6 separate regions of the Homo sapiens genome follow, and all the other regions are linked to region 1. Evidence: promoter capture Hi-C in 16 types of primary human blood cells and fetal thymus (Javierre and others, 2016). All regions are on one chromosome and are shown on one strand. Each heading gives the region's core, a stretch centred on a gene start or on the middle of the fragment in contact. The rest is flanking DNA. Distances are from core to core; before and after follow the strand shown. Region 1 holds the start of DMKN (dermokine). Region 2 has its middle 6.6 kb from the start of ZBTB32. Region 3 holds the start of KMT2B (lysine methyltransferase 2B). Region 4 overlaps FFAR1 (free fatty acid receptor 1). Region 5 overlaps MAG (myelin associated glycoprotein). Region 6 overlaps KMT2B (lysine methyltransferase 2B).

What was found. The method cuts DNA at HindIII sites, captures the fragments that hold promoters and counts their contacts. A CHiCAGO score of 5 or more calls a contact.
Region 2: a contact is called between a fragment that was not itself captured here and the fragment with the promoter of DMKN in region 1, in 5 of 17 cell types (monocytes, megakaryocytes, naive B cells and 2 more). The highest score is 6.7, in monocytes.
Region 3: a contact is called between the fragment with the promoter of KMT2B here and the fragment with the promoter of DMKN in region 1, in 2 of 17 cell types (neutrophils and monocytes). The highest score is 11.0, in neutrophils.
Region 4: a fragment that was not itself captured here is called in contact with the fragment with the promoter of DMKN in region 1 in 16 of 17 cell types (M0 macrophages, megakaryocytes, M1 macrophages and 13 more); the score reaches 16.3 in M0 macrophages.
Region 5: a fragment that was not itself captured here is called in contact with the fragment with the promoter of DMKN in region 1 in 6 of 17 cell types (neutrophils, total B cells, megakaryocytes and 3 more); the score reaches 8.3 in neutrophils.
Region 6: a contact is called between a fragment that was not itself captured here and the fragment with the promoter of DMKN in region 1, in 1 of 17 cell types (monocytes). The highest score is 6.4, in monocytes.

What each region holds. Positions count from the first base shown.
Region 1 is chr19:35,512,286-35,514,985 of GRCh38, forward strand. It overlaps DMKN (dermokine), which reads right to left and starts at 1,364. Exons shown (of 16, transcript NM_033317.5): 1 at 765-1,364; 2 at 305-505; 3 at 136-192. The coding sequence starts at 1,190. The HindIII fragment of the contact is 13,607 bases long and covers 1-2,700 here.
Region 2 is chr19:35,696,586-35,699,285 of GRCh38, forward strand. No RefSeq gene overlaps it. Among named protein-coding and RNA genes, the nearest start is that of ZBTB32, 6.6 kb to the right of the region's middle. The HindIII fragment of the contact is 1,755 bases long and covers 401-2,155 here.
Region 3 is chr19:35,716,606-35,719,305 of GRCh38, forward strand. KMT2B (lysine methyltransferase 2B) reads left to right here and starts at 1,398. Exons shown (of 37, transcript NM_014727.3): 1 at 1,398-1,776. The coding sequence starts at 1,414. ZBTB32 (zinc finger and BTB domain containing 32) reads left to right here. Exons shown (of 7, transcript NM_014383.3): 7 at 1-433. The coding sequence ends at 147. RefSeq lists enhancers at 1-510, 63-342, 1,630-2,187 and silencers at 913-1,392, 1,473-1,522, 1,543-1,612, 1,653-1,732, 1,783-1,832. The HindIII fragment of the contact is 14,363 bases long and covers 1-2,700 here.
Region 4 is chr19:35,352,636-35,355,335 of GRCh38, forward strand. It overlaps FFAR1 (free fatty acid receptor 1), which reads left to right. Exons shown (of 2, transcript NM_005303.3): 2 at 1-1,229. Among named protein-coding and RNA genes, the nearest start is that of FFAR3, 4.5 kb to the right of the region's middle. RefSeq lists an enhancer at 1-417 and a silencer at 2,394-2,493. The HindIII fragment of the contact is 1,553 bases long and covers 522-2,074 here.
Region 5 is chr19:35,309,792-35,312,491 of GRCh38, forward strand. It overlaps MAG (myelin associated glycoprotein), which reads left to right. Exons shown (of 11, transcript NM_002361.4): 8 at 83-370; 9 at 756-852; 10 at 2,127-2,226. Among named protein-coding and RNA genes, the nearest start is that of CD22, 18 kb to the right of the region's middle. RefSeq lists enhancers at 1,655-2,156, 2,157-2,656. The HindIII fragment of the contact is 3,088 bases long and covers 1-2,700 here.
Region 6 is chr19:35,735,945-35,738,644 of GRCh38, forward strand. KMT2B (lysine methyltransferase 2B) reads left to right here. Exons shown (of 37, transcript NM_014727.3): 31 at 746-883; 32 at 968-1,042; 33 at 1,142-1,319; 34 at 1,692-1,799; 35 at 1,915-1,998; 36 at 2,118-2,247; 37 at 2,338-2,700. The coding sequence ends at 2,613. Among named protein-coding and RNA genes, the nearest start is that of IGFLR1, 5.2 kb to the right of the region's middle. The HindIII fragment of the contact is 3,993 bases long and covers 1-2,700 here.

The DNA.
Region 1 (2,700 bases), core at 114-2,613:
CCTCGCCCAGCCCCATCTCTTCCTCTCACCCCAATCCCTCCACTCCCCCATCTTGCTTTCCTCTTTGTCTTTCCCCAGCTCTCTGTAGCCTGCACCCAGTGGCTTCTTCATTTGTTCCCAGCCCCTTCCTCTTACCCCTTCATTCTGGTTGCTGGCTCTCACTGAACCATAGCCAGGCTGGGCCACAGCTCCCTGCAGAGAGGGTGAGACTGAGAGTAGGATCCAGAGGGACCAGGGAGGCACGCGGAGCATGTGGGCTTGGAGGGAGGGAGGTGGCAGGTAGCAGGTCTGGGGGTGACTTTACCTGAGTGTTGGTCCCAAAGTTTGGTGGCCCTCCATTGCCTCCTTGACCCCAGGGAGCTCCCTGAGGATTCATTCCAAAGCTGCCTGCTGAGTTTCCGGGGTATCCGTGGACCCACGGAGTCCCCAGACCTCCAGGATTGCCCTGGCCCTGGCCTCCAAGGCCACCTTGAGAGCCAAAGATGCCATGGCCTCCAGAAGTTTCCTGCAAGAACAACATACCTGCACTTAGTGGGACCATCTCTGACCCTGGTAGAGAAGAGCCAGGGCAAATCATAAAGAGACCAGGAGAGAGACAGGCAGAGGGACTCCAGGGTGGCATAGGAGGGGGGCAGAACATAGAAGGAAGCTGCCCCAGAAGCCTGCAAGTAAGAGATCCATCCATCCTTTCAACCGTTTCCCAAGAATCTCAGCCCAGCAGCCCACAGCCTCCCATTTCCACATGCAGCCCCACAGCCACTCACCCAAGCACCATTGTGGCCAGGCACCCCCTGCCAGGAGCCGCGGACAGCATCTGCTCCGTGTCGAATGACATCTTCTGCCTGTCTGCCAATCTCGTGCCCAGTGTTTCCCAGAGCATGGGCTGCTTCCCCGACCCTGTTGCCCAAAGCATCTGCTACGCCAAAGCCTGGAACCTGCCTGACTCCAGTGCCAACTGCTTCTCTGGTCCCTTGGCCAAGGGCCTCACTGACTTTAGAGCCAGCTGCCCCTCCGGCCTCTTTGCCAATGGCCTTTCCCACCCCTTCGCTCAGGGCGTCTCCCAGGCCATGTCCAAGGGCCTCCCCAATATTTGTCCCAGTGCTTTCCTCTCCGCTCTGCAGGGGGCCAGCCTCCCCACTGCCCAGGCAGAGGGCCAGCAGGAGGCAGGCCAGGGGCCCCTGGAACTTCATCTCTGCCCAGCCCCCTCTCTCTCCAGAGTGTCTTCCTCCCACCAGGGTCTCCTCCTTGCCGCCCTTGCTCTGCGTCTCTGTGCCCTCCTCTGTCCTCCTCCTTCCGACTCCCTGTCCTCCCTCCCTCTGGGTCTGCAGCCTTCTCTCTCCTGTCCTCAACTGCCTGGGCTTCTCAGAGTCCACCTCCCTGTCACTACTCCTTATACTCTAGGTTGGGAGAAGGTGACAGGGCTGGGCAACCTGAGGTCCCTCCCCGCAGTGACTCAGGGCCCAGCCACCAATAGGGTAATCAGCTGTTATTGTGAGTCTGAGAGTCTCTGTCGAAACAGAGAGTGAGCCGCATCAGGGAGGGAGGGAGAAATGGATGAGGTGATGCAAAAGTGCTCCCATTTCCCAACCCCAGGCATTCGGGGAGCTGGGTGGGGGCAGGGGCATCTAAGGAGACAGGTTGTCGTTGGCTCCTGGAGGCGGTGGGGTGGGGGCAGACTTAGAAGAGAGGAGTTACTGGCAGGACCCCACCAAAGGAGTAAGGACAGGGAAGCCCCAGGGGACAGGACCCACCCAGGCTCAGCCAGCCTGGCTCAGGGGCTCCAGAGTGACAGGCATTGCCCGTCCTCGGCCTGGCCTTTCTCGGTTTCAGCACCTCAGCCTCTCCTCTCCCTCTCCCCTCCCGCATTGCCACCTACAGGTGACTGCCTTCTTGTTCCTCCACACCTTCCAGCCCACAGAGAGAGACTGGCAAACACGGGGCTGCGTGTCAGTTTCTGAGATTCTGGGGAGAGCCCCCGGGGGGACCCTCGGTGTCGGGGAAGGAGGTGGCCATAGCCCTTTGAGTGGTCAGCAGGGTGTCTCAGCGTTCAGGCTGCTCCCGGCTGAGAAAGCTGGGCGCGGAGCAGGGCAGCCAGGCGCGCCAGCCACCCCCAGGGAACGAGTGGGAGGGAAGGCCAAGGGAGGGAGCCGCTGACCCAGGCACCCATCCTGTTTACGCAGCCCTAGAGGGGCACGTGTGAGTATAAGCGCCTATGAGGGGCGGGACTGGGCCAGCTCACCCCACCCATCCCCCAGGCCAGGGGCCAGGGCAGCAATGGCAAGCGAGAAGAGGGTAGCGCAAGGTCAGGAGCCATCCGTGAGAGCCACGGCCCTCTCCCCAGTCCCAGCTCGGGATACAGAACCTGGGAGCCTCCCCCCGCCTCACCCCTGCCCAGCAAGTGTGGCTGCTTCTCTATTCCCAGGGGCCACAGGGCCTCCCACTGTTTCGTATCACTGGGGTTCATCGCCCAGTTAGGAGGGGCCAGTTTCCATCAGCCTTTCTCAATGTCTCTCAGTCAGTCTCTCTCTTCTCTCCACCCCAATATCCGCACCCCAGCTTATAACATCCAACACTTCTTACCTTGTAAACACTATCCCCATCTGTCCTCCTCAGCTCCTACTTCCCTGTTATTCCATCTCTGACTCGTTAATGATGATAATAGCGATGGTGGTAATAATAATAATAATAATAATAATAATT
Region 2 (2,700 bases), core at 28-2,527, 180 kb after region 1:
GTGACCCAATCTCAGCTCACTACAACCTCTGCCTCCTAGGTTCAAGCGATTCTTGTGCCTCAGCCTCCTGAGTAGCTGGGATTACAGGCGCCCGCCACCATGCCCGGCTAATTTTTGTATTTTTAGTAGAGATGGGGTTTTGCCATGCTGGCCAGGCTGGCCTCCAACTCCTGACCTCAAGTGATTAGCCAACCTTGGCCTCCCAAAGTGCTGGGATTACAGGTGTGAGCCACTGCGCCTGGCCAGGAGTTTAATAAATATTTGAGTGAAAGTAAGTTTCTTGACCTTGACGCATGGGCCCTAGAGAGCTAGAAGACCTGAATTCTAAGCTTCATTCCTGTGCAACTGTGGACACTGAGCCTCAAATGTAATCATGGTCTGGGGTTTTTCCAGAGATCAAAGCTTGGGGAAAGTCCTTTGTTCTCTGAAAGGTACAGGGTTATTTTCACATCTGTTATGAACACTCGTGCCGTTGAGCTGAGCTCCTGAGTCTTAGTCAGCTGCCTGGCTCCAGGTGGACTTCCTGCTGTACCTCAGATATACTAAGCTCACTCCTGCCTTGGGGCTTTTGCGCTTGCTACTGCTTCTGGGAACACACTGCCCCCAGGCTTTCCCATGATCCCTTAATTTTCAGGGTCTACACCACAGCCAAGGCAGATGACACTGATTGCAAGGAAACAACTCGGTTACAGGGCATTGGGGAACAGAAGAAATGCCACTATTCGGCTCACGCCTGTAATCCCAGCACTTTAGGAGGCCGAGGTAGGTGGATCACAAGGTCAAAAGATCGAGACCATCCTGGCCAACATGGCGAAAACCCGTCTCTACTAAATATACAAAAATTAGCTGGGCGTGGTGGCCCGCGCCTGTAGTCCCAGCTACTCAGGAGGCTGAGGCAGGAAAATCGCTTGAACCCAGGAGGCAGAGGTTGCAGTGAGCCGAGATCGCGCCACTGCACTCCAGCCTGGAGGGCAGACTCCATCTCAAAAAAAAAAAGAAGAAGAAATACCACTGCTCTATTAGTTCATTTAATCCCCTCAATGACTTTGAGAGGTACACACTTTTTTTCTTTTTTTTTGAGACAGGTTCTCACTCTGTCACCCAAGCTGGAGTGCAGTGTTGCAATCATGGCTCACTGTAGCTTCTACCTCCTGGGCTCAGGTGATCCTCTTACCTCAGCCTCCCCAGTAGTTGGGATTACAAGTGTGTGCCACCACACCTGGCTAATTTTTGTATTTTTTGTAGCCATGGGGATTCGCCATGTTGCACAACCTGGTCTTGAACTCCTGAGTCCAAGCAATCCTCTCACCTCAGCCTCCCAAAGTGCTGGGATTACACATGTGAGCTACCACGACCGGGAGTATGTACCTTTTTTTTTTTTTTGAGATGACGTCTCGCTCCGTCACCCAGGCTGGAGTGCAGTGGTGCAATCTCAGTTCACTGCAACCTCCCCCTCCCAGGTTCAAGCGATCCTCCTGCCTCAGCCTCCCGAGTAGCTGGGATTACAGGTGCCTGCCACCACACCCAGCTAATTTTTGTATTTTTAGTAGAGATGGGGTTTCACCGTGTTGGCCAGGCTGGTCTTGAACTCTTGACCTCAGGTGATCTGCCTGCCTCGTTCTCCCAAAGCGCTGGGATTACAGGCATGAGCCACTGCACTCAGCCACTCAGCCCTTTTTTTTTTTTTTTTTTTTTTTTGAGACATAGTCTCACTCTGTTGCCCTGGCTGGAGTGCAGTGGCATGATCTCAGCTCACTGCAACCTCTGCCACCTGGGTTCAAGCGATTCTCACGCCTCAGCCTCCCGAGTAGCTGGGATTACAGGCTTGTATTTTTAGTAGAGACAGGGATTCACCATGTCGGCCAAGCTGGTCTCGAACTCCTGACCTCAGGTGATCCGCCCACCTCGGCTTCCCAAAGTGCTGGAATTACAGGTGTGAGCCACCATGCCTGGCCAATATGTACTATTAATATGCCCATTTATGATATGACCATTTAATATGCCCAGATGAAGAGATTAAGGCCCAGAGGGGTTAAGCAATTTGCCAAAGGTCTCACAACTAGTAAATAACAGGGCCAGGATATGATGCAGACAGTTTGGATCCAGCATTCAGCTACCTAGGCTGCAAGGCTCTCTGCTTCTCAGTGTACAGTTAAGCTTAGTTAGTGTAGGATCTGGCATGGGGAGTTGCTCAATAAGCAACTGAAGGCAGGGGCTTTTTATTTATTTTTCTACTTCTTTCAGACATTTAACTCTCCAAATCTTACAGTCCAACCCCCCAAGCCAAGCCAACAACCCTTCCTATACCATCTTGCCAGAGCCCAGGGTCCCTCACTCCATCTTCTCATGCCTTCCTGGCCCATAAAAAGGATTCAATAATTTGTAGTAATTAGCTGGGCATGTTGGCATGTGCCTGTAGTCCCAGCTCCTCAGAAGGCTGAGGCAGGAGGATCGCCGAGGCTAGGAGTTTGAGGCCACAGTGTGCTACGATCGCACCTGTGAATAGCCACTGCACTCCAGCCTGGGCAACACAGCAAGACCCCATCTCTAAAAAAACAAAACACAGGAAACCTGTATTGTAGACCAGCTTATTAAAACAGAAAGAAAATAACCAGGTGTGGTGGCACATGCCTGTAATCCCAGCTACTCGGGAGGCTGAGACAGGAGAATCGCTTGAACCTGTGAGGCAGAGGTTGCAGT
Region 3 (2,700 bases), core at 148-2,647, 200 kb after region 1:
CTGGCCTCCATGCAGGCGCACATGCGCGGTCACTCGCCCAGCCAACTCCCGCCCGGATGGACCATCCGCTCCACCTTCCTCTACTCCTCCTCGAGGCCGTCTCGGCCCTCGACCTCTCCCTGTTGTCCTTCTTCCTCCACCACCTGACGGGGTGTCGGTAGCGTCTTAGCCAAGAGTCCAATTAAAGAACGAAAAGCGGGCCGGCTCGGCTTCTGACCTGGCACCGCTGCTACGGCGGCCTAGCAAATTCCGCCCCAGAAGCGCCCCAGGAAGGGCGCCGAGTGCCCTCTCCTGGACGATCGCGGGTCGCAGAAGCCCAGGCCAGCGAGCCCTACAGAGTGAGGACACTGAAGTGTGCAGGAGCGAAGGTTAACAGTAGGGGAGATTGTCGATCTCATCACCATAATAAAGAGTTTCCTGTGCCCTCCCTTCAGGACTAGAAAGCCGAGTTTAGTCTGTGCACACCCCCGCCCACGCCCCTTGTCCTGTAGCGGCCCCTGGTGGCCCTGCGTCCGCTGTCCAGCGGGATGGACACTTCTTCCACCCCCGAGGCGCCCCGTCCTCCCCAGGAGGCAGCCGGCCCCGAGGACTCGGTGTCCGGGCACACCTTGCGGCATGCCGGTCCTGGACTGGTGGGGGCTGTGCGACCGCAAGTCACTCGCCCCTTCCACTGCAATCCACGGCGCGCGGAGTCTGATCTGGGAACGCTCGGCCCGGGAGAGAGAGGAACGCGTGCTCCGACCCTGCTTTCGGCCACCCGCCTCCTCTCCGGGAGCACACGGACCCCGAGACCGCGGCCTCTCCGGCGTCTTCCCTCCACACCGTGCCAAGCCGCCGCCAGGTCGCGCCTGGAACGGAGACTGACTATGCTTTCCACCGCTCCTTCTCCAGCCCACGCCTCCTGCAGCCGCGAACTGCATTTCCCAGGGCCTCGGGGGTCCCGGGGCCCGAGCCCGCGGCACCCTGGGAGTGGTAGTCCACGCGGGCCGCCGGCCTAGCCAAGAACAATGGGAGGAGCCTGGGGCTAGGACCACACCTCCCGGAGACCCGGCAACCCGCTTTCCGGGTCCTGGCCGGGAACCCCGCCGTCCCGGCCCTCGCGCCCTGGCTGCCGGCGGAAGAAGCGAGGCGTCCGGACTACATTTCCCGGAGGCCCCCGCGGTTCGCCCCTCTGCGGCCGCGACGCGGGGGTCTGTGCTCCCCAGGTGCGGTCCGAGGGCGCCGGCCGGCCGCGGACTCCCTCTCCCGTGGTGCCCTGCGCGTGGCCGGCCCGGCCCCCGGTCTCCCGCGGCGGCGCTGGTTGTTGTCGTGCGCCGCGGCCGCCCCGCCCCGCCCCCGCTCTCTCCCCTCCCCCCGGCCCTGCGCACGGGCCGCCCCTCCCCCCGCCTCCCCGGCCCCTCTCACGGTGCCAAGATGGCGGCGGCGGCGGGCGGCGGCAGTTGCCCCGGGCCTGGCTCCGCGCGGGGCCGCTTCCCGGGCCGGCCGCGGGGCGCCGGCGGGGGCGGGGGCCGCGGCGGACGGGGCAACGGGGCCGAAAGAGTGCGGGTAGCTCTGCGGCGCGGCGGTGGCGCGACGGGGCCGGGCGGAGCCGAGCCCGGGGAGGACACGGCCCTGCTCCGTTTGCTGGGGCTCCGCCGGGGCCTGCGCCGGCTCCGCCGCCTGTGGGCCGGCCCGCGGGTCCAGCGGGGCCGGGGACGGGGTCGGGGCCGGGGCTGGGGCCCGAGTCGAGGCTGCGTGCCGGAGGAGGAGAGCAGTGACGGGGAATCCGACGAGGAGGTGAGGCGGTTGGAGGCGTCCCCGGCGCCGGGTGGGGCGGAGGCCGGGGCTTCCAGGGGTCTGGGTTGTCCCGGGGGCGGCGTGGGCAGGCCGGGTCCTCAGGGTTCCTTCGGAGAGACGGGGCACGGAGGGAGGGCGGCTGCATGCAGCTTCCGGGGGAAAGGGCCTCTGGAAGTGGGTAGAGAAGCCCCGGCTGCAGCCAGGCACTCGCGCCCGATGTCGGTCCCGCTGAAGTGTCTTGGGCCGATCCTTTTCGGCAGCTGGCAAAGCTAGGGCGGTGGAGGTTTGGGCGAGGAGGCAGTGGGGACTGCATGTCCAGCCAGTCGTGGTTGACAGCGGCAGCGTGGCCTTGGCAGACAGGTTGGAGCTGTCTGGGCTCTTACCTGTGGGCCGCCCCGCCGGGCCTCGCAACCTCCTGGTTTCTCCAGGGCCCCAGTTTCTCTTGGCATCTCAGGTAGAGTGGTGGAGGGCTTCCTCTTGGGGCTCGGGTTGAACAGGAGTGGGATGAAGGCCGGGACTGGGCACTCTAGCAGGTCAGAGCTCAGCTCAGGATTTCTCCCCCAGCCTTTCAGAACAGGCAGGAAGGTGTGGGTTGCGTTGCCCTGGACGGTTAATAACAACCTGAGAGCTCGCAGTGGAGCCTGTACGAAAGCCATCTGATGCCCTCCCCGCCCCTTCACTTGCGGGCCCCTGTTCCCAACTTAATGCAGAAATAAATTGTGGCCCGAAAGGGTGTCAGTGGAGGTCCCACTTTGGTCTGAATTGGACTCTGAAGGAATCTGAGTATGGGGCCTGCTGCCTTTCCTGAGGAGACCCTGTCGTCTTCTCTCTTGGGCCAGTGAACCATGGCTTTGGCTGTGCTGGTGTGGTCCGGCACTGGGGATCGGAGTTCGAAATACCTGGCGCCTCCATCCCTAGGGAGAG
Region 4 (2,700 bases), core at 48-2,547, 160 kb before region 1:
AGAGCACGGTGGCAGGGGGAGGTAAGTTTGCCCCTGCACGTGTCGAGGAAGTTTGTCCCTTCCTCGCCTATCTTTCTCTCCCCTCTGCACGTCCTCACCTGCCTGTCTTCCGTGGGCCGCGAGCAGAGGCCTTGTACTTACGGGAAGGAGGAGGCAGTCTGTTTCTGACCCACAGGAACTGCCACTCCGGTGATGCACTTGAGGACAGCTACTCTGAAATCAGTTCCCAGGAGAGAACATTTGATTTCCGAGTAGGAGAGGAGGCAGGAGGCAGGATAATGACGCTGTTATACCATGTGAAACTCGCAAGGGGGCAGCCTTGGAGCTTGGAACGGAGGCTGGCAGGAAAAGATGCTTCAGCCGGGGAGGGAAAATGCAAGGTCCCGCAGTGATGGGCAAAGGCTACGGAGTTGACTCTTGAACAACGTGGGGATGGGGTGCCGAACCCCACGCAGTGGAAAATCTGTGCATGACTTTGACTCCCCCAAAGTTCAACTACTAATAGCCTACTGTTGACCAAAAGCTTTACCCAGTATATAAACAATTGAGTAAGACATATTTGAAGCCAGGCACAGTGGCTTATGCCTGTAATCCCAGCACTTTAGGAGGCCGAGGCGGGAAGACTGCTCGAAGCCAGGAGTTCAAGAGCAGCCTGGGCAAGATAGTGAGACCCCCACCTCTACAAATAATAAAAATAAAAATAATTAGCTGGGCGTGGTGGTGCGTGCCTGTAGTCCCAGCTACTCAGGGGTCTGAGGTGGGAGGATCCCTTGAGCCCAGGATTGAGGCTGCAATGCCATGATCGCACCACTGCACTCCAGCCTGGGTGACAGAGCAAGATCCTGTCTCTGGAAAAAAAAGAAAAAAGACATATTTTGTATGTTATATATATTATGTGCTGTATTCTTACAATAAAGTAAGCTAGAGAAAAGTACATGTTACTGAAAACATTATTAGAAAGAGAAAATACCTTCACAGCACTGTGCTGTATTTATCAATACTGTAAGTTTTGTTGTCTGTTTATAAGAGAAGTTGTCTGTCTCAAGCGGCAGTAACCGCGGCTGCAGATCTCAATCTGTGGTAGATATCAAGCAGTTCAACCCTTTTTTATAATGTCATGACTTTTCTTTGCTTCTTGGAAGCAGCTCTGGCATCACTAGTGGCCCCGCATTTGGGGCCAAGGGGGTTATTCAAAGTTTACGGTATTGCATTAAACATGGTGAAACATATGCAATGACTATGAAAGATCACTTTTTACTTCTGTACACAGTGTACTGGCGAGAACTGCTCACCAGGAGGTGATTAGCTTCACGTGGTGTTGGAAGCAGATACTCAACAGTTGAGCTCACGGAGAAAGCACAGGAGGTGGCTACGAAATTATTATAGGAGTACAGTATGTCTACAGTAAATATGCACTTATGACTTTAATACTGCACATCTTTATGTTTGCTTGCATTTCTCTTGACTTCAAATGGCATCAAATAGAGTTTGTGTTTGCGTGCATATATTTTTGATAAATTTTAACTTTTTTGTTTTGTTTTGTTTTTAGACAGAGTCTTGCTCTGTCTCCCAGGCTGGAGTGCAATGGTGTGATCTTGGCTCACTGCAACCTCCGCCTCCCAGGTTCAAGCAATTCTCCTGCCTCAGCCTCCCAAGTGGCTGGGATTACAGGCACCTACCACCACACCTGGCTAATTTTTTGTATTGTAAGTAGAGATGGGGTTTCACCATGTTGGCCAGGCCTGTCTCGAACCCCTGACCTCAGTTGACCCACCCGCTTCGGCCTCCCAAAGTGCTGGGATTACAGGCGTGAACCACGGTACCCTGCCAATTTTAACTTTCTATAAGAGATTTGCCCAGCCTGGGCAACATGGAGAAACCCTGTCTTTACCAAAAATACAAAAAATTTAGCTGGGCATGGTGGCGTGTGCCTGTAGTCCCAGGTACTTGGGAGGCTGAGGTGGAAGGATGGTTTCAGCCTGGGACGCAGAGGTTGCAGTGAGCCGAGATCATGTCATTGCACTCCAGCCTGGGTAATAGAGCCAGATCCTGTCTCAAAAAAAAAAAAAAAAAAAGCTTTGTATCCATTTTGGCATACATAGACTAGTATGTATGGCAGTAAATAGACTAGTGGCAGTAAATAGACTAGTACCTACATATATTTTTTGTATTCGTGGCATACTTAACTTTTGCTTAATTTTAAAAATATATTTCTAGGCTTGTAGTTCCTCTGTAAGTTTTTTCAAATTGTTGCAAATCTCTGAAAATGTTTCCAATGTATTTATTGAAAAAAATCCACAAGTAAGTGGACCTGCACAGTTCAAACCTGTGCTATTCAAAGGTCAACTATATAGTCTGTAATACGTGATGGGTGTCACGCTGAGTGTCTACAGTGAGTGTTGTCTCACTTCAGCTTCACACAACGCTGTGGTTTAGCCTTGCCACTGCCGTACGGATGAGCGGGTGTTCACTACACGAAGGTACTGGGCAGAGGAGCAAACACTGACTAAATTCTAGCCTGTGCTTTGCTCAACAAGCCACATGCCTGCCTTGCTTGCATCAAGGGAAGGAGTATTGTGTTCTAATTTGAAGAAATACACCAGCCACTCCTTAGGCAGCACTTGGTGCGGGATGGGCTCCTCTGGAAAGGGAGCACCTAATTTGCACAAAGGTGCTGCACCAGGTAGCTACGATCCTGGA
Region 5 (2,700 bases), core at 163-2,662, 200 kb before region 1:
CCTTGCCTTGAGCCAAGGAGTCTCCGGGGCCGGGCCTCGCGTTGGCTCCGGGCCACCCTCAGACCTGATTTTGCCCCTGCAGTCGCCCCTGTGCTCCTCCTGGAGTCCCACTGCGCGGCAGCCCGAGACACGGTGCAGTGCCTGTGCGTGGTGAAGTCCAACCCGGAGCCGTCCGTGGCCTTTGAGCTGCCATCGCGCAATGTGACCGTGAACGAGAGCGAGCGGGAGTTCGTGTACTCGGAGCGCAGCGGCCTCGTGCTCACCAGCATCCTCACGCTGCGGGGGCAGGCCCAGGCCCCGCCCCGCGTCATCTGCACCGCGAGGAACCTCTATGGCGCCAAGAGCCTGGAGCTGCCCTTCCAGGGAGCCCGTGAGTGGCGTGGACTTGGGGTGGGAGCCACAGGAGGGAGCGGGCACGTCTTAGATCCAAGCTCCCAAGGCTGACCAACAGCCACAGAGCATGGGCTATGCAGATTGACAGAAAGGTCAAATTCTCCCTTTCCGGTTGGAGAGGAGAAGCCGCCCTGAGTTTGCCCCGAGTTTGCTAGGACCTTTGAGGCATGAGCCCCTCCCCAGGGCCCTCTAGCATGAAAGGGATTGCCCTGGCACGAGGAGGCTCCGTGCCAATCAGTCAGTGCAAGGATGCCCCGGCTGTGTGACTACATTGACTGTCATCCCAGCATGTCTCCAAAGTTCTCAGGTGTCGTCACCACCACCCATAGCCCTAAGGGCGCCTGGGTCTTTTCTGTCCTCAGATCGACTGATGTGGGCCAAGATCGGGCCTGTGGGCGCCGTGGTCGCCTTTGCCATCCTGATTGCCATCGTCTGCTACATTACCCAGACACGCAGGAAGTGAGTGCCAGCTGGGGCTGATCTGGGGATGGGAGTCTCCAAAAAGGGGACCTGGTGGGAGATGGAGGCCCAGAGTGGGTGGGGGAAGGCAGCACCATAAGTGTAGAGAAGGCAGATTCTGTTCTGGGAATGTTCAGCTGGACAGAGGAGAGAGGGTTCCTGTTAATTCCAGCCCCTGCTGGTCAGGGGCACACCAGGGCCTGGGCTGAGCCCTTTACACACATCATTTGAGACCTGTTTGCCCACATTCTATTTTGACAGCCTCCCTATCTCTAGGAACTCTCCCCTACACACTCCAGTGTGGTGGGGAAAGCCCAGGTACCCCACTGCAGCCACAGCAGCAGGTCCACTTGACGCCAGAAGCCCCAAAGATTACACACATCTGGGGCAAAAAAAAAATAGGCCTTGGCCGGGCGCGTTGACTCACGCCTGTTATCCCGCACTTTAGGAGGCCAAGGAGGAAGGATTGCTTGAGGCCAGGAATCTGACACCAGCCTGGGCAACATAGCAAGACCACATCTCTAAAAAAAATTTTTTTTTAATTAGCCAGGCATGGTGGCACACACTGTAGTCCCAGCTACTTGGGAGGCTGAGGTGGAACGATTCTTGAGCTCAGGAATTAGAGGCCAGCCTGGGCAACATAGGGAGACCCCATCTACAAAAAAACAAAAAAATTAGCTACTAGTGGCACGTGCCTGTTGTCCCAGCTACTCGGGAGGCTGAGGAGGGAAGATCGCTTGAGCCTGGGAGGTTGAGGCTGTAGTGAGCTATGATTTCACCACTGTACTCCAGCCTAGGTGACAAAGAGAGACCCTGTCTCTAAAAACAAACAAACAGACAGACAGACAGACAGAAAGCCTCTCCAGCCCCAAACCATACCCACCTGGCCCAACTCAGCTGCAGCCGTGTTTCTTTCTTGTGGCACACACACATCAGCTGTCCTGAGAAATAAATTAACCCCTCTGCTCCACATCCTGGTGGCAAGAGGGGCAGAAAGACCCAGAGCCTATGAGGGGAACCTGGAGAATCCAGGTGGGGGTCCTGAAAAACGGCAGAGCTCAGGGGCCAGGTGGCTCGTCCCCAGCCGGGCAGGGGCCACAGAGGTGGGAAGGATGGGCTGTGTGGGTAGGAGAGGCTGGTGGTTCTGAAAGGGCTGCTTGCCACATCTTAGAGATGGGTGGGAGAACTCTGAGGTCCCCTGAGCCAAACTCCTAAAACACGTGGGGGTGCAGAAAGGGAGGGCAGAGAGAGGTCTGACGAGTCCTGCCCTGCAGAAAGAACGTGACAGAGAGCCCCAGCTTCTCGGCAGGGGACAACCCTCCCGTCCTGTTCAGCAGCGACTTCCGCATCTCTGGGGCACCAGAGAAGTACGAGGTAAGGACCAGGCTCCAGGCTGGCCTGGGAACCTGGATGCCAGGGACACTGAAGGCCTGGGAAAGGCCTGTGAGGCCAAGGGGCAGGGGAGTGGGAGCGGCCTCTCACAGGAGGAGAGGAAGGACATTCCAGGGCTGGGTTGGACCTGGAGGCTGGGGAGGAGGTGCCCAGGCCGAAGCTGTGTAGGGGGCGATGGGACGTGGGGCCTAAGGGCCCCCTCCCCTCCCTGCCTGTGTCTGTGACTGCATTTCCTTCTCCAATAGTCCAAAGAGGTTTCTACCCTGGAATCTCACTGAGTGCCCCAGGAGGTAGGTTCCGGGGGCCTCAGTGTGCCCTCCTCTGGGCCCTCCTTGGGCCCTGGGGTTGGCGTGCATGTCCGTGTGTCCCTGTCAGGCGTCAAGGTGGTCTCTGGTGATGTCCGGGCCTGCCCGGCAGTGCTGGCCTTGTCTAGTCTGTCCTGTTGCAGCTCCCTTC
Region 6 (2,700 bases), core at 117-2,616, 220 kb after region 1:
GGCTCTGTGCATGTGAGCCTATATAATAATATATTTGTAGCTGGGCACAGTGGCTCACGCCTGTAATCCCAGCACTTTGGGAGGCCGAGGCGGGCGGATCACCTGAGGTCAGCCTGGCCAACATGGTGAAACACCATCTGTACTGAAAATACAAAAATTAGCCGGGCGTGGTGGTGGGCGCCTGTAATCTCAGCTACTCGGGAGACTGAGGCAGGAGAATTGCCTGAATCTGAGAGGCACAGGTTGCAGTGAGCCGAGATCACACCATTGCATTCCAGCCTGGGAGACAGAACGAGACTTTGTCTCAAAAAATGATAATTTTATGTTTGTAACAGTTACAGAAATTTGCTGCATCTAAAAAAAATAGATGTGCAAAATACAATTCTCCAGTATTTTAAATTTTGTGTGAGAAACAGAATAATGACAGGTAGATGGGATGTATGGTACACTGGGTTTGAGTGAGCCATAGGCGTGTCCTGAAGAGCCAAAAGGCCCCAAGCCTCTGTGGAATGCTTTTGTACCCAAGAAGTCCTGCAGAAGAGGAGCCGCAGGCTCCTTAGGGGAAGAAATGTCCATTCTGCAGGGCTCACTGGGTAACTGGAGCAGAAGGAGGGCCATTAGACCCTAGTATCTGTGTCTGCGCCTAGGGGTGGAGAGAGTGGTGTCTGCTGGGAGCACAGCGGGGCTCAGGGGCTTTTGAGTCCGGGAAGGGTGATCTTCACTCCAACCTGCTTCTTGGGACCAGGTGAGGCTTCGAGCTCTGAGGAAGAGCCTCCATCCCCAGATGATAAAGAGAACCAGGCCCCAAAACGGACTGGCCCACATCTGCGCTTCGAGATCAGCAGTGAGGATGGGTTCAGCGTTGAGGCAGAGAGCTTGGAGGGTGAGTGGGGGGAGTGCAGTGGCAGGAGGGAGAGTGTCCATAAAACACCATCCTGACTCAGCTCTGGCTCTGCTGTCTCCCCAGGGGCGTGGAGAACTCTGATCGAGAAAGTGCAAGAGGCCCGAGGGCATGCCCGACTCAGACATCTCTCCTTTAGTGGTAAGGAGTGGGCCCCACAGGGGGCAGGGAGCTGGATGTCTCCCCGAGGGCACCATGGGCCCTCCACATGACAGGTGTGTCCTCAACATCTCCCCTCAGGAATGAGTGGGGCGAGACTCCTGGGCATCCACCATGATGCTGTCATCTTCCTGGCCGAGCAGCTCCCCGGAGCCCAGCGTTGCCAGCACTATAAGTTCCGTTACCACCAGCAGGGAGAGGGCCAGGAGGAGCCGCCCCTGAATCCCCATGGGGCTGCTCGGGCAGAGGTCTATCTCCGGTGAGAGGTCTGGGGTGTGATGCCTGGGTCAGGGCGCCCCTATGAGAGCTCTTGAGGGTGGGAGTTAACTGTAGAGGTTGGAAACTGAGGCCTGGGGAGGAGACACTAGGTCACTTGAAGAGTTATTTCTAGAGTTAGCCAGGCTCCGTGGCTCATGCCTGTAATCCCGCCACTTTGGGAGGCCGAGGCAGGAGGATCGCATGAGCCCAGGAGTTGGAGACCAGCGTAGGCAACATGGCAAAACCCCATCTCTAAAATAAAAATTTAAAAAAGTTATTTCTAGAGCTGACATCAGAAAAATGAACCCCACCCATTTCCCTGTTAGCTCTGTCTTCAACAGTATATTCCTCCTTCCCCTGCTGCCACCTGCAGGAAGTGCACCTTTGACATGTTCAACTTCCTGGCCTCCCAGCACCGGGTGCTCCCTGAGGGGGCCACCTGTGATGAGGAAGAGGATGAGGTGCAGCTCAGGTCAACCAGGTATGGAGTGTGAGCTGGGGGGCGGGTGGTGGTCTGGAAGGGTCTTAGAGAGTGAGCAGGGGTGAGAGAGGTCATTCTGAGCACCAGCCTGGGTGACACTGCTGTCCCTCACCAGACGTGCCACCAGCCTGGAGCTGCCCATGGCCATGCGTTTTCGTCACCTTAAGAAGACGTCCAAAGAAGCTGTGGGTGTCTACAGGTGAGTGGGGTTGGGGGGGAGGATGCCCCTTGGGTGGACGGACAGGTGCACTGGGTAGGGGGTACTGTCTGGTTTCTGTCCCCCTCCCCCCTGAGTTCCCTGTTCATCCTGCCCTGCAGATCAGCCATCCACGGGCGAGGCCTGTTCTGTAAGCGCAACATCGACGCGGGGGAGATGGTCATCGAGTACTCTGGCATTGTCATCCGCTCGGTGTTGACTGACAAGCGGGAGAAGTTCTACGATGGGAAGGTGGGCTCCCAGTGGCTGTGGGAAGACAGTGGGTGAAGCGAGCCTGTCCGCGGGGACAGAGCACCTGATCTCCCCACCTCATCCCTGCAGGGCATCGGGTGCTATATGTTCCGCATGGATGACTTTGATGTAGTGGACGCCACGATGCATGGCAATGCCGCCCGCTTCATCAACCACTCCTGTGAGCCCAACTGCTTCTCTCGGGTCATCCACGTGGAGGGCCAGAAACACATTGTTATCTTCGCCCTGCGCCGCATCCTGCGTGGTGAGGAGCTCACCTACGACTACAAGTTCCCCATCGAGGATGCCAGCAACAAGCTGCCCTGCAACTGTGGCGCCAAGCGCTGCCGTCGGTTCCTTAACTGAGGCCGTGGCTGCCCACCACGACCCCTCACACCTCCTGCTGCCGTCGCTGCCATCTTGCCCCTAGCCTGGGGGCTCCCTAGCCCCTCC